Regions from separate parts of the Homo sapiens genome. Here region 2 is linked to region 1. Evidence: promoter capture Hi-C in human tissues and cell types (Jung and others, 2019). All regions are on one chromosome and are shown on one strand. Each heading gives the region's core, a stretch centred on a gene start or on the middle of the fragment in contact. The rest is flanking DNA. Distances are from core to core; before and after follow the strand shown. Region 1 holds the start of B4GALT2 (beta-1,4-galactosyltransferase 2). Region 2 overlaps TMEM53 (transmembrane protein 53).

What was found. The method cuts DNA at HindIII sites, captures the fragments that hold promoters and counts their contacts. A contact is called where the count stands out against the background at its distance.
Region 2: a contact is called between a fragment that was not itself captured here and the fragment with the promoter of B4GALT2 in region 1, in 1 of the 25 tissues and cell types used here (dorsolateral prefrontal cortex).

Annotation. Positions count from the first base shown.
Region 1 is chr1:43,976,493-43,982,755 of GRCh38, reverse strand. It overlaps B4GALT2 (beta-1,4-galactosyltransferase 2), which reads right to left and starts at 3,546. Exons shown (of 7, transcript NM_003780.5): 1 at 3,245-3,546; 2 at 1,283-1,647; 3 at 832-1,067. The coding sequence starts at 1,595. ATP6V0B (ATPase H+ transporting V0 subunit b) reads right to left here. Exons shown (of 8, transcript NM_004047.5): 5 at 6,097-6,166; 6 at 5,932-5,983; 7 at 5,540-5,730; 8 at 4,461-4,775. The coding sequence ends at 4,749. RefSeq lists enhancers at 116-705, 3,070-3,661, 3,662-4,252, 4,253-4,844 and silencers at 3,173-3,282, 3,553-3,652. The HindIII fragment of the contact is 8,245 bases long and covers 1-6,263 here.
Region 2 is chr1:44,664,520-44,670,782 of GRCh38, reverse strand. The region is part of intron 1 of TMEM53 (transmembrane protein 53); the gene reads left to right. Among named protein-coding and RNA genes, the nearest start is that of SNORD145, 3.4 kb to the left of the region's middle. RefSeq lists an enhancer at 5,814-5,893. The HindIII fragment of the contact is 3,743 bases long and covers 1,026-4,768 here.

The DNA.
Region 1 (6,263 bases), core at 2,297-4,796:
TGCGCTGGACTTACTGCCAGCATGCCTCCCAAGACATTTCTCAGTTTGACTTCCAACTCCTCCAGCCTCATCTTTGCTACCCAGTCCACATGCTGGACACCACACCTCAGCCAATAGTTCGTGAACACGAGGCCAGTTATCTTGCTGGCCCTGCATCCTCCAGGTCCCTCTGCCTAGAATGCTGGCTTCTGCAGCCCCTGATGCCTGCTCATCCCGCAAGACCCATCTCAGCAACTGCTTCCCAACCCCAGGGCTGGACTGGGGCCCTCTGTGCTCCCACGGCCCCCTGCTCCACCTCCACTTGTGTCCCATCATACGGGAGGGACCCATGTCCAAGTCTAGGAGGTCTCTGTGGTCGGCGGGGGCGGGGGGGCCTGCATCAGAGGTCCCTTCTGGGACCTAGTGGCCAGCCCTAGCCAGGTCCACCAAAGGCCTTAAGATGCTGAGCTGAGTGCCCTGGCCTCAGCTGTGGCTGGCACCTACCCCAAAGGGTTCTACAGGCTTCATCCTTCTTTCAGGGTCTAACTCCCTCTCCTCAGGGCCCTCAACATCTCCTCCTACAGCATACCCAAGGCCTGCACCACCATGGGGTGAGGCCTGCCAAGGGTAGAGAGTGGGGCTCAACCCCTTCTGAGACCATGCACACACCTGCCAGTGTGCATGCCAACATTCACATGCACACACTGTGCGTACACATTCCTGTGCACACTGACAAACACCGACTACCCACGCCCAGGTCCATCCACATATCCACACGGGCAGACAAGGACCCACAAACGCCCCCAACCCACATATATACACCAACAGGCACATGGACCCCCGCATGGGCACCTGGTTGATGACATAGACGCCGTAGCGCAGCCGCTGCCGCCTCAAGATGGGGTGTAGATAGTGGAGCCAGTAGCGCAGGTGGTGTTCCCGGTGTCTAAAGGGGATGATGACCGCCACCGTCTGGGCTGGGGTGCAGTCGGGCGGTGTGTATCGGCCGCCCATGAGCACGCCTGGGTTCTCCCTCTGCACCCGCTCCAGGGGCATGGGTGAGGTGAACTCGATCAGCAGTCTGCCCACTGCAGACAGGACAGTGTCAGGAATCAGGGCATTGGCCAGAATCCACAGATACCAGCCCCCACCCTCAGCCTGGGGGTGGGCTAGGGAACCCCAAGAATAGCCCTCTTACAACAGACCTGGACCCCTGGCACACCCCTGGGTCCAGATGCCATTTCTCTAGTCAAACCAATAAAACCCTGTTTCCCCACAGGCAGGCCCTACCCTCCAGGCTCACCAAGACCAGGTGGCGAGTCAGGACAGGGTGGCAGCGTGGGAGCCGTGGGACCGGGCAGGGCACTGGGGACCTCAGGGAGCCCGGAGCTAGAGGCGGTGGCGTTGGGCCGGGAGCAGTTGCTGCTGCTGCTGCTGCTGCTAGCAGCTGGGTGGAGGGCATGGGCAGGGCCTCGGGCACTGAAGCGGCTGAAGAAGGCCAGGTGCTGGGCGTAGACGTCAAAGTAGAGGATGACGGCCACGAGGAAGTGCAGCAGGCAGAGAAGGAGCACAGCCTTGCAGACGCGCTCCAGCGTCCCCCCCAGCAGTCTGCTCATCCCGCAGGCGGCCACTGGCCCGCCCAGTGGGCCCGGGCATCCGGCTGCTGGCCTGAGCAGGGTGGGAGGGAAACAGATCCAGCAGGTCAGGGCAGGACAGGCAAGGCTGCCCACCTACCTCCCACTCAGCTGCTCACACTCGTGGGCCACACCTCACACTGACCTGCTCATACCCTTTCACACTCACAGACTCAAGAATTTACCTCCAAACAGACACCCAGGCACAGTTCCCGGCAACTCAGTACTCACATCCTCAAGCACACCCCACTACTAAGCCACATACATTTACCTTCCTCCACCTCACTGACACACACACTCAGGCACTCACCCTTATTGCACAACTCTACACACACACTCACGCATTCCCAGGAACACAGACACGTGAACTCTAACCACACTGGTTTGTACCTAAGCATGGAGACATGTTTACCTATAGACCCCCATGTGCCCCTGTGCCCCTGAGAACAGACACCTCACATGGCAGCATCCTTAACCCAGAACTCATGGCTTGGGGAAGAGGGAAGAGACGGAATACTGTGCACCTACCATGCAGGAGCACTTTATACTCATGACTTCATTTAGTCCTTCCAGGAGCCATGGTGGGAAGTGGTTTGGTCATTCAGATCCCAGCGACAAGCAGGCCAGGCCAACTGGGACCAGGCTGGGAAGTTGCCCTCAGCATCCGGGGGGCCCAAATACAGACTGGATGTTTACAGAATCCCTTCCCACTGGAGCAAAACGTCAAAATACGGGGCAAGGCAGGGGACACCCCTCACTTAAGACCTCAAAGCCAGCCCCTTGGGACTGGGACCAAGACTCTGGGTCCTGCCCAGCACAGCTGGTTCTGATTCCCGGAACGGGATGCTTGGGCCTGGAGATGGGCACAGCACTGGGCATGGCAGGAAGGGGGTCTTGCCTGGGCGATGGCTCCAGCTGTGGTTCCAAGAGAGCGGCAGCCACTTCTGGCAGTGCTTCAGGGAGCAGGGTGAGTCTCACAGGCACACAGAATCACAGGGACACCCTGGTCCCAGCTGGTCACCCACACTCAGACACACAGAGAACTACAGTCACAGACACACCCGGGTGACAGTAACACACTAAGTCCCACACTCACAAACAAGGCCACTGCTCCTGGACTTCCACAGCCATACATCCAGACTCTCAGACAGCTCACACCCAGACCCACGTGCAGACATTCCCACCCTCCCTCCGGCGCAGGGGTTCTGGGTCAGGCTGGCGGCCAGGCTGAGGGGTGCGTTTGGGCGGGGCTGGCAGGCTGAACACGTGGCACCCGCGGACGGGCAGGCCGCACAGACCGGGTGGGTGTGGAGCCTGGGGGCAGGGGGAGTGGGTGGAGGGCAGCGGATGAGGCAAAGGCCAAGGGGAAACGTGTATGGAACGCCTCCCCGCGCCACGAGGCCGGGGCGAGCGAGGACAATGAGGGAGGCCGGCTGGACGCGGGCGGAGAAGCCCAGGAGGGGCGCCGGAGTGGGGGCGGGGTGGGGGCAGCCAGGCCGGGGTCTGGCCGCCGGCGCCTCTCTCACCGGCTCCTGGGTTGGGATCTCGGGGCCGCGCTCGGGGTGCCCCTCGCGGGGCTGGGTCTGGAATCTCGGGGCCCTGGGTGGGGGCCGCGCGCGCCCTCCTCTCACCCGGCGCTCGGGGCTCAGCAGGGGACGCCGCTCCGACTTGGGCAGGGCTCCCGGCTCCGGCGGCTGCGGACGGTTCCGTCCCCCATGGCCCGGCCCCGCCGCCTCCCGCCGCCCGGTCAGCGGCCACCGCGGCCCCCGGGTCGCCTCCCGCCGCCGCCGCCGCCGCCGCCGCCGCGGGCCATGGAGCCGAGCCGCCCCGGGGGGCAGGGCGGGGCCGGGCGGCCGGGCAGACCCACGGACCGGCGGACCCACGGACCACAGCGCCGCCGCCTCCCTCCCGCGCTACGGCGCCTCGGAGGGGCAGGCCCGGCCCGCGCGCCCGCGCGCGCGCCCCCGCGGCCCCCGCCTCCAGCACGCCCGCACCCGCCGCGCGCCGCTGCGAGCCCGCCCTGCCGGCGGCCGAACCCGGGCACCCAGGAGGCACGGACCTGGGAGCGCGGGAGGAAATGGGTCAGGCTCGTCCAAAGGGTGGGCTTAGAGGTCGGACCGGCGAGCGGGTGCAGACCGTGGAGTCCCTTAGCGGGGAGTGGGGATTGCATTGGAGCGCGAACTCCCCAGGAAGGGGACCTGGAGGTTGGGCGGACTCAGGCTGCGGGGCTAGGGATTTGTCAACTCTTTAATTGGACCAAGATTCAAGGTCGGCCAGCAGAGAGGGGGCAGGACCCTTAAAGGCGTGGGCTGGAGGTGGCTGGGGCTTCTGGGGTAACAGGAAACAGGGTCAGGGAAGGAGAAAACGAGATTGGATGGGGTGGGAGGAGCTGCCCTGGGCCCTGGGAACAAGGATCAGAGTAGAGGTTTCTGGGAGGGGCTGCTGCTAGAAGGACAGGACCATCACTGGAGGCAGAGACCACTGCCTAGGCTCCAGGCCTCACAAGGACGGAGATGATGGTGCCCGACTGTACAACCAGGTAAGTAGATGCTGTCAGACAATTCGGGCATGGTGGTCAGTCAGAGCCCTGAGCAAACGGGCCTAGAAGGACTACAGGCACAAACACACCCAGGGGCCCCTATCTGCACACTCCCTCATCCCCAAACAAGTCTGTTTGGGGGTTAGAGTCCACCCAGCACCCGTGCCTCCCCACCTAGGAGCAAGCTCTGTGCAGATCAGAAGTGTGCAGTCAGAAAGCTGACAAGGGATTGGCATGAGGCTGAGGCGTACAGGCCTCTTTACCCTTCCTCTGTGAACGGTGACGCAAGAGGGCAACAGAAGCTGCACTGACCCAGACAAATACCAAGTTTATTTCACAAACACTAGGAAGATGGGTTGAGGGTGGAGGTGGGGGACACAGGTGCGCAGCTGCACAGAGTCAGCAGCAGCAGCCTGCTCCCCGCACTGAGGACTCGGCCTGGACTGCAGTGCCTCCAAATCAACACGCAGCAAGAGGGGAGTGCAGGGAGGGCCCTGAACACCAAGCCTCTGAAAGGCTAAGGGACACAGCTCCAGCTGTCCCAGGAAAACCAGCAATAAATAAAAGTGAGGCACGGCCCCACCCACACATATCATCTAGTCACCCATCTTCACTCTGGAGGTCTGCAAAAAAAGAACAGGAGAAATCAGGCAGGGACAGAGGAATAGGTAAGGCAGTGACAAATGATAGAAGATGACATCTAGCACATGGTTGGATGGACAGACCACAAGAGATATATGACTAACCAGGATGGACACACTGTGACAGACAAGGCAGACAGGGACAGACAACCACAGAGTTACGCTGTGGGACAGACGGAGAGAAGTGGCATATGGATAAAGCTAGTCACTAAGAATCAACTCAGTCAAGCACCCACAGTCACACTCAGACCCTCAGGCTGATCCTTAGTCACAAACTCACACACTGTCAGACAGACTAGACACACACAATTTAGACAATGGTGTCCTACTGACAGGCATGTGAGAGGGAGATACACATAGCTCCGAGAGACAGTCAAACACACCATGACAGACTGATATAGACAGACAAAATTCCATTCTAGTCTAGATCACAAATACAGACTGGAGACATGAAAAGCATGGCAGATAAAATGAGAGAACAGAAAGAGGGAGGACTAAGTGCTATACAGATACAACGCATTAGAAAGGGGGGAAAAAGAACAGGGCTGTTGTCAGTGACACCAAATCAGAGACAAAAATAGAGAGCCCCTGTAGGAGAAAACCAGAAGATGGAAATGAGGAGGTGGAAGCTGTTTGGGGGAATCTATAGTTATAGGTAGAGAAGGAGAGCACTTCAGCTTCTCCAGAAGGAGGGTAAGGCTAGGTTGGGGACAAGGACACAGAGGCTTCCCAAGGGGATTCATCACCTGAAGAATTGCGACGATGACCCCAAAGAGGCCAATGGCGCTGCCAAAGATCTCCACGATGAGAATCTTTACAAAGAGGCTGGGGTTCTGAGCATCGGCCAGGGCAGCCCCACTGCCCACGATGCCCACGCAGACTCCACAGAAGAGGTTAGACAGGCCTACGGTGAGGCCAGCCCCAAACATGGAGTAGCCTGGGAGGATAGAGAGGGGTGCAGTGAGGCTAAGCCAGGAATGGGGGAGATATGGGCTAATGGGGCCAATCACCATCCCCACTCTGCAAAGCAGAAAAAGTAGGTGAGAGAATATCAAAATGATGGCCCAAGCTGGGATGGGGGAGAGTGGAAGCAGGCATGAAGTCCCAGCATTTTGCATTCATACGCCCATCCACCCACCTGCATGGTAGTTCCGATGGCCGATGGCCTTGGGGTCTGTGGCACTGAAAGGCTGAGGGAAGAAGAAAAGTAATCAGAAACCATCCTGATGCACCCCATCCAATCTCTAAGGAATGTGTAGAACACACTGGAATGGATTCCCGCCACCACCCTGGCCTTCCATACCTCAGCCATGTTGCTAATGACAATTGCCATGATGATGCCGTAGATGGCCACAGCCTCACAGAAGATGATGCTGGTAGTGGTAGAGATTAGGGGTAAGGAGTGGAAAGGAGAAAGAAATGAGAAAGAAACCGTCCTTCCTGCCCAGTAAGTCCCCAGCAATCTTTCCC
Region 2 (6,263 bases), core at 1,648-4,147, 690 kb before region 1:
ACAAACATTTTGCTCTTAAAGTAAACAGAAGGTCTTAAGGGGATCACAGAGAGGGGAAGTGAGGGGGTTTTTGCTCCCCAGGTTTTACCGCATGCCTTTTTTGCTCATCACTGGCTGAGGTCAAAGAAATATAGACATCATTTTAACCCTCAGGAAGTTGTCTCGGACACCCAGGAGACAGTGCTGAAGGGTCTGGACCACCATGGTGGGCCCTGTGGTGGGAGAGGCTTCCTAGAGTAGAGCAGCCCAAGCTGGACCTGAAGCTTCAGGAGGGCTGACAGACCCCCATGGTGAGCAGCAGAAAGTGTGGAAGTCAAGTCCATGGCCATACCACCTTGAACATGCAGATCTCAGAAGCTAAGCAGTGTCAGGCCTGCTTGGAACTTGGATGGGAGAAAGTGCAGAAGTAAATCCCTGAAGGGGGACAGTGAGTGGCTGGAGGGAACAGGGGCCTGGCAGGAGGCCGCGCTGTGCTTTTGTGGGTGGAGAATTAGATGAAAACCTGAAGATCTGTCATGATGGACAGACCTCAAAGACCCAGGTGAAGAGAGTCGTTTGGGATTTGATCCTTGTCTTGTCTACGAGGACCCCAAAGGTCTTTTTTTTTTTTTTTAATACAGAGGAGTTGTATTTATTTTTGGAATCATGATCTCTTTTCTTTCACCTCTAGATAAGAGCCCTTTCTGGCTGGGCGTGGTGGGTCACACCTGTAACCCCAGCACTTTGGGAGGCCGAGGTTGGCGGATCACCTGAGGTCAGGAGTTCGAGACTAGCCTGACCAATATGGAGAAACCCCATCTCTACTAAAAATACAAAATTAGCCGGGTGTGGTGGCGCATGCCTATAATCTCAGCTACTCAGGAGGCTGAGGCAGGAGAATCGCTTGAACCTGGGAGGCGGAGGTTGCAGTGAGCCGAGATTGTGCCATTGCACTCCAGCCTAGGTAACGAGAGCGAAACTCCGTCTCAAAAAAAAAAAAAAAAAATAGGATGCTTTCTAAGTGTCTGCTCTATGCCAGGTGCTGGTGCTGTACTAGACCCTGGATTTGAGATCCAGGCCTCTTTGCAGGCCTCCTTTTCTCTGAATGTCTGTGGTACTTAACACTGTTAACCATGTTCTATCCACATGCCAGGCCCACCAGGAGCTCCTTTCATTATTTTATTAATCCTCACAACCACCTTGTGAAGTAGGGAGAACCCTTAATCCTGTTTTACAGATGAAGAACAGATGCTCGTGGGGAGGTAAAGTGTCTTGCCCAAAGTAATTCCAGATTTCAGCTTAAGAGCCTTACTCCAGAGCTTGTGCATGCCGAGATTTCAGTTGCCATTAGGAGGGGCTGCCTGAATACGATGCCATTTCTAGGAAACAATTAGGGACATGCACAAAGAAAGGGGTGTCCATTAAAGTATTTTTATAACAGCAAAAAATTGGAAACAGCATCATATCCAATAATGGGAGATTTGGTCACCATAAATTATGAAACATTCTATAGCCTCTCTGAAGCCACTAAAAATAATGGTGTAGAAATATATAAACTGACAGGGAAAAATGTTCACAATATATTGCCAAACGGAAGAAAGCAGATTACAAACAATATGATTCCAATTTTATTAGATATTCATTTTCTACTTTTTCTACAGTGAGTATGCATTACTTGTGAAGTAATAATAATTTCAATTTATTGAACTCTTTCCTTCTGCCAGGCACCATGATAAGCCCTCTATAGCTATTATCATATTTAATTCTTTGTATCATTGTCCCCATTTCACAGATAAGGAAATTGAAGCTTAGAGAACTTGATTAAGGTCTGTGTCATAGTTATTAAGTGGCAGAGGCAGAGATTTGAACCGAGATATGATTTTGTACAGTATGTACTCTTAGATACTATGCTACTCTGCTCTGCTCTTCTTTTAAAAAGTAAATAAAAAATAAAGTAATTTGGCCGGGTACAGTGGCTCACGCCTGTAATCCCAACACTTTGGGAGGCCGAGGGGGGTGGATTGCTTGAGCCCAAGAATTTGAGACCAGCCTGGGCAACATGGCCAAACCCTACCTCTGCAAAATAATACAAAAATTAGCTGAGCATGGTGGTGCTTGCCTATAGTCCCAGCTACTTGGGAGGCTGAGGTAGGAGGATTACCTGAGCCCAAGAGTTCGAGGCTGCAGTGAGCCATGACTACACCACTGCCCTCCAGCCTGGGCAACACAGAAAGACCTTGTCTCAAAGAAGAAAAGAAAAATTTGATTTAAATATAGGAACTGTGAGACACTAGAAAGTTTTTCTGGGGAGTAGAGAAAATTAAGACTCTTTCAATTTTTTGCATGTTATTTTATTTTTATTTTTATTTTATTTTATTTTTAAGACAGAATATCGTTCTGTCGCCCAGGCTGGAGTGCAGTGGTGCGATCTCAGCTCTGGGTTCACGCCATTCTCTTGCCTCAGCCTCCGGAGTAGCTGGGACTATAGGCGCCCGCCACCACGCTCGGCTAATTTTTTGTATTTTTAGTAGAGACGGGGTTTCACCTGTTAGCCAGGATGGTCTTGACCTCCTGACCTCATGATCCGCCCACCTCGGCCTCCCAAAGTGCTGGGATTACAGGCGTGAGCCACCAAGTCTGGCCAATTTTTTGCATTTTAAAAAGAAAACATGGTTTCTATTTTCATTCTGGCTTGCAAATAAAAAAGTACATATTGTACTGCAGACCCTTATGCCTTATCAGCCCATTCCTTTGTCTTCCCCATATGCCCCTGGGGTATACACAATCTAATTTATGCTTGAGTTTTATGGCTTGAACTGTTGTACAATATACGTATTTGTAATTCTGGCACTATCTGTGTCAGTGTTATTTGTTGAGAAATTCTAGAGGACAGGGAGCTTGTGAGATTAAATTGCTTTGTGGGGTACTCGAGAAGTGCTAGGGTTGAAAAGAATCCTTCCACATTGCTGAGGGGCTTCTGGGCATCCCTGGCCTCTTTGACTTCTCAACTGCTTTTGACTCTGCTGGACCACCTCCCCTGTTGTTTGAGATAATATTTTAACTCTCATTGCAGAAGTTATACATACTGATTTTAGAAAGTGGGAAAAAAATCATGAAAAAGAAATTGCCTCTAATCCCATAAATAATTGCTATTAATATTTGATGTATTTTTTTCTATGCATTAAAAAAAATACATGGCTGGGCGCGGTGACTCATGCCTGTAATTCCAGCACTTTGGGAGGCCGAGGTGGGCAGATCACCTGAAGTCAGGAGTTCGAGACCAGCCTGGCCAACATGGTGAAACCCCGTTTCTACTGAAACCACAAAAATTAGCCGGGCATGATGGTGGGCGCCTGTAATCCCAGCAACTAGGGAGGCTGAGGCAGGAGAATCGCTTGAACCTGGAAGGCGAAGGTTGTAGTGAGCCGAGATTGCACCATTACACTCCAGCCTGGGCGACAGAGTGAGACTGTCAAAAAAAAAAAAAACAACAAAAAAAGTGTGCGTTTGTGTAGTATGTGTGTGTATATGGGTATTCTGTTATGATATTGCTTTATAACTTGTGTTTTCACTTAATGTATTACTATTATTTTTAAAAATAATAACATTATTGAGAAATAATTCACATACCATAAAATCCACCCTTTAAAAATGTACTTCTGGCCAGGCGCGGTGGCTCATGCCTGTAATCCCAGTACTTTGGGAGGCTAAGGTGGGAGGATTGCTTGAGCCCAGGAGTTCAAGACCAGCCTGGGCAACATAGTGAGACCCTGTCTCTACAAAAAATAAAAAATTAGCCAGGTGTGGTACCATGTGCCTGTAGTCTTAGCACTCAGGAGGCTGTGATGGGAGGATCGCTTGAGCCTGGGAGGTTGAGACTGTAGTAAGCCATGATCTCACTACTGCATTCCAGCCTGGGTGACAGAGTGAGGCCCTGTCTCAAAACAAAACAAAAAAAAAAAGTACAATTCACTGGCTTTTGGTATATTCACAGAATTGTAAGAATATCACTGCCATCTAATTCCAAAACATTTTCATCATCTGAAAAAGAAACCCCATTCCTGTTAGTAGTCACTCTCCATTCCCTCCTCCCCCCAGCCCTTGGCAACCACTAATCTTTCATTCTCTGTGGATTTGCCTATTCTTGATATTTTATATAAATGAAGTCATATAATATGTGCCCCTTTGTATCTGACTTATTTCACTTAGAATGATGTTTTCAAGGTTCATCCATGCTATCACGTGTATTAGTACTTCATTCCTTTTTATGACTGAATGGTATTTAATTGTATGGATGTATCACATTTTGCTTATCTGTTCACAGATGATAGGAGGTATGTTTCCACCTTTTGGTTATTATGACTGCAATGAACATTCATGGGCAAGTTTTCATGTGGATGTATATTTTTAGCTCTCCTGGATGTATCCCTAGTAGTGAAATTGTGGGATCATGTGGTAACTCTACATTTAATTTTTTTGAGGATCTGCCATACTGTTTTCCAAAGTGGCTGCACCATTATGCATTTCCACCAGCAGTGTATGAGGGTCCTGGTTTCATCCACAACCAACACTTGTTTATTATCTGACTTTTTAATTATAGCCATCCTGGGTATAAAGAGATACCTCATAGTGGCTTTGATTTTGATTTCCCTAATGGCTATGATGTTGAGCATGTTTTTATGTGCTTATTGGCCATTTGTAAATCTTCTTTGGAGAAAGACCTGCTTAATATATTCAGGTCCTTTGCCAATTTTTGAGTTGGGTTTACTTTTTGCTGTTGAGTTTTAGGAGTTTTCTCTGTATTCTGGATATTACTCCCTTATCAGATACATGATTTGCAAATATTTTCTCCATGCTGTGGGGTTTTTCTTTTTTTCACTTTTTTTGGATTATGTCCTTTGAAATAAAAAGTTTTTATTTTGATGAAGTCTCAATTTATCTCTTTTGTTTGTTTGTTCCTTGTACTTTTGGTGGCATGTCTATGAAACTGCTACTTAATCCAAAGATTTACTCATATGTTCTCGTCTAACAGTTTTGTAGTTTCAGCTCTTACATTTATGTCTATGATCTGCTTAATGTATTATTGAATATTTCTCCATGATTTAACGTTTTTCTTTCTTATAAGTGGAATTACCAAGTCAAAGATTGCATGTTTTTTTTTTTTTTTTGAGATGGAGTTTCGCTCTTGTTGCCCTGGCTGGAGTGCAATGGTGCAATCTCTGCTTACTGCAACCTCCGCCTCCTGGGTTCAAGTGATTCTCTGCCTCAGCCTCCCAAGTAGCTGGGATTACAGGCCCCCACCACCGTGCCCAGCTAATTTTTTGTATTTAGTAGAGACGGGGTTTCACCATGTTGGTCAGGCTGGTCCCCAACTCCTGACCTCAAGTGATCTACCTGCCTCGGCCTTCCAAAATACTGGGATTATAGGCTTGTGCCACTGCGCCCGGCAAAGATTGCATGTTTTTGAGACTTTTGATACATGTTCCAGAATTCTTGTGACCGTTTTCTTCCTGTCATTTCTACCCCTCCCTATCTGTCTCTCCACTGCTCTGGTTCAGGCCTTCACCATCTCTTGCCTTGAATTTTACAGTAGCCTCCTACCTGTTCCTGATGATGTCAGTATAGTGTGTGTTAAGTGCAGTGGTGTGGTGGTGGGTGCTGTGGCAGTACAGAGGAGGGGCACCTCACTCAGTCTGATGGTTTGGGGTGGGGGGTGGTGAGAAGGGGTTGGGGAGGGCGTCAAGGAAGGCTTCCTGGAAGTAAGTAGTGAGCTGATTCTATAGGTGGAATGGGCATTAGCAAAGCATGAACACGGAGCATCAGCATCGTGGGCTGGAGAGCAGAGAGCAAGTGCAAGGTCGCGGTGGTGGAGGCGGTAGAGCACGCTGGTCCGGATAGTGGGCGCTGGCTCTGCTGCTTCCTGGCTGTGTGTTCTTGGGGGAAAGGGACTTCCCCTCTCTGTGTTTTAGTTTTCTCTTATGTAAAATGGGGATAGTAATAGTAGCTAACTCCTAGGATGGTTGCAAGACCAAATGAGGCAGCATATATTGAAGTTCTGGCTGGGAGAAGCAGGTAGATGAGGTCATTTATGGGGTCTCTTGATGTACAGGAGGCAGCCATGTATACAGGTTTGGAGCTGAGGTGATGGAGATGGTTTTGTTATCTACAGGGCTGGCTAGGATAGCGGATACAAGCTGGTCTTTAGAGTTAGACCAGCTGGGTTTGGATTTCAGCTTCACTGCTTGTTAGTTATGTAACCCTGAGCAAGCCGTTTCGTATGTGCC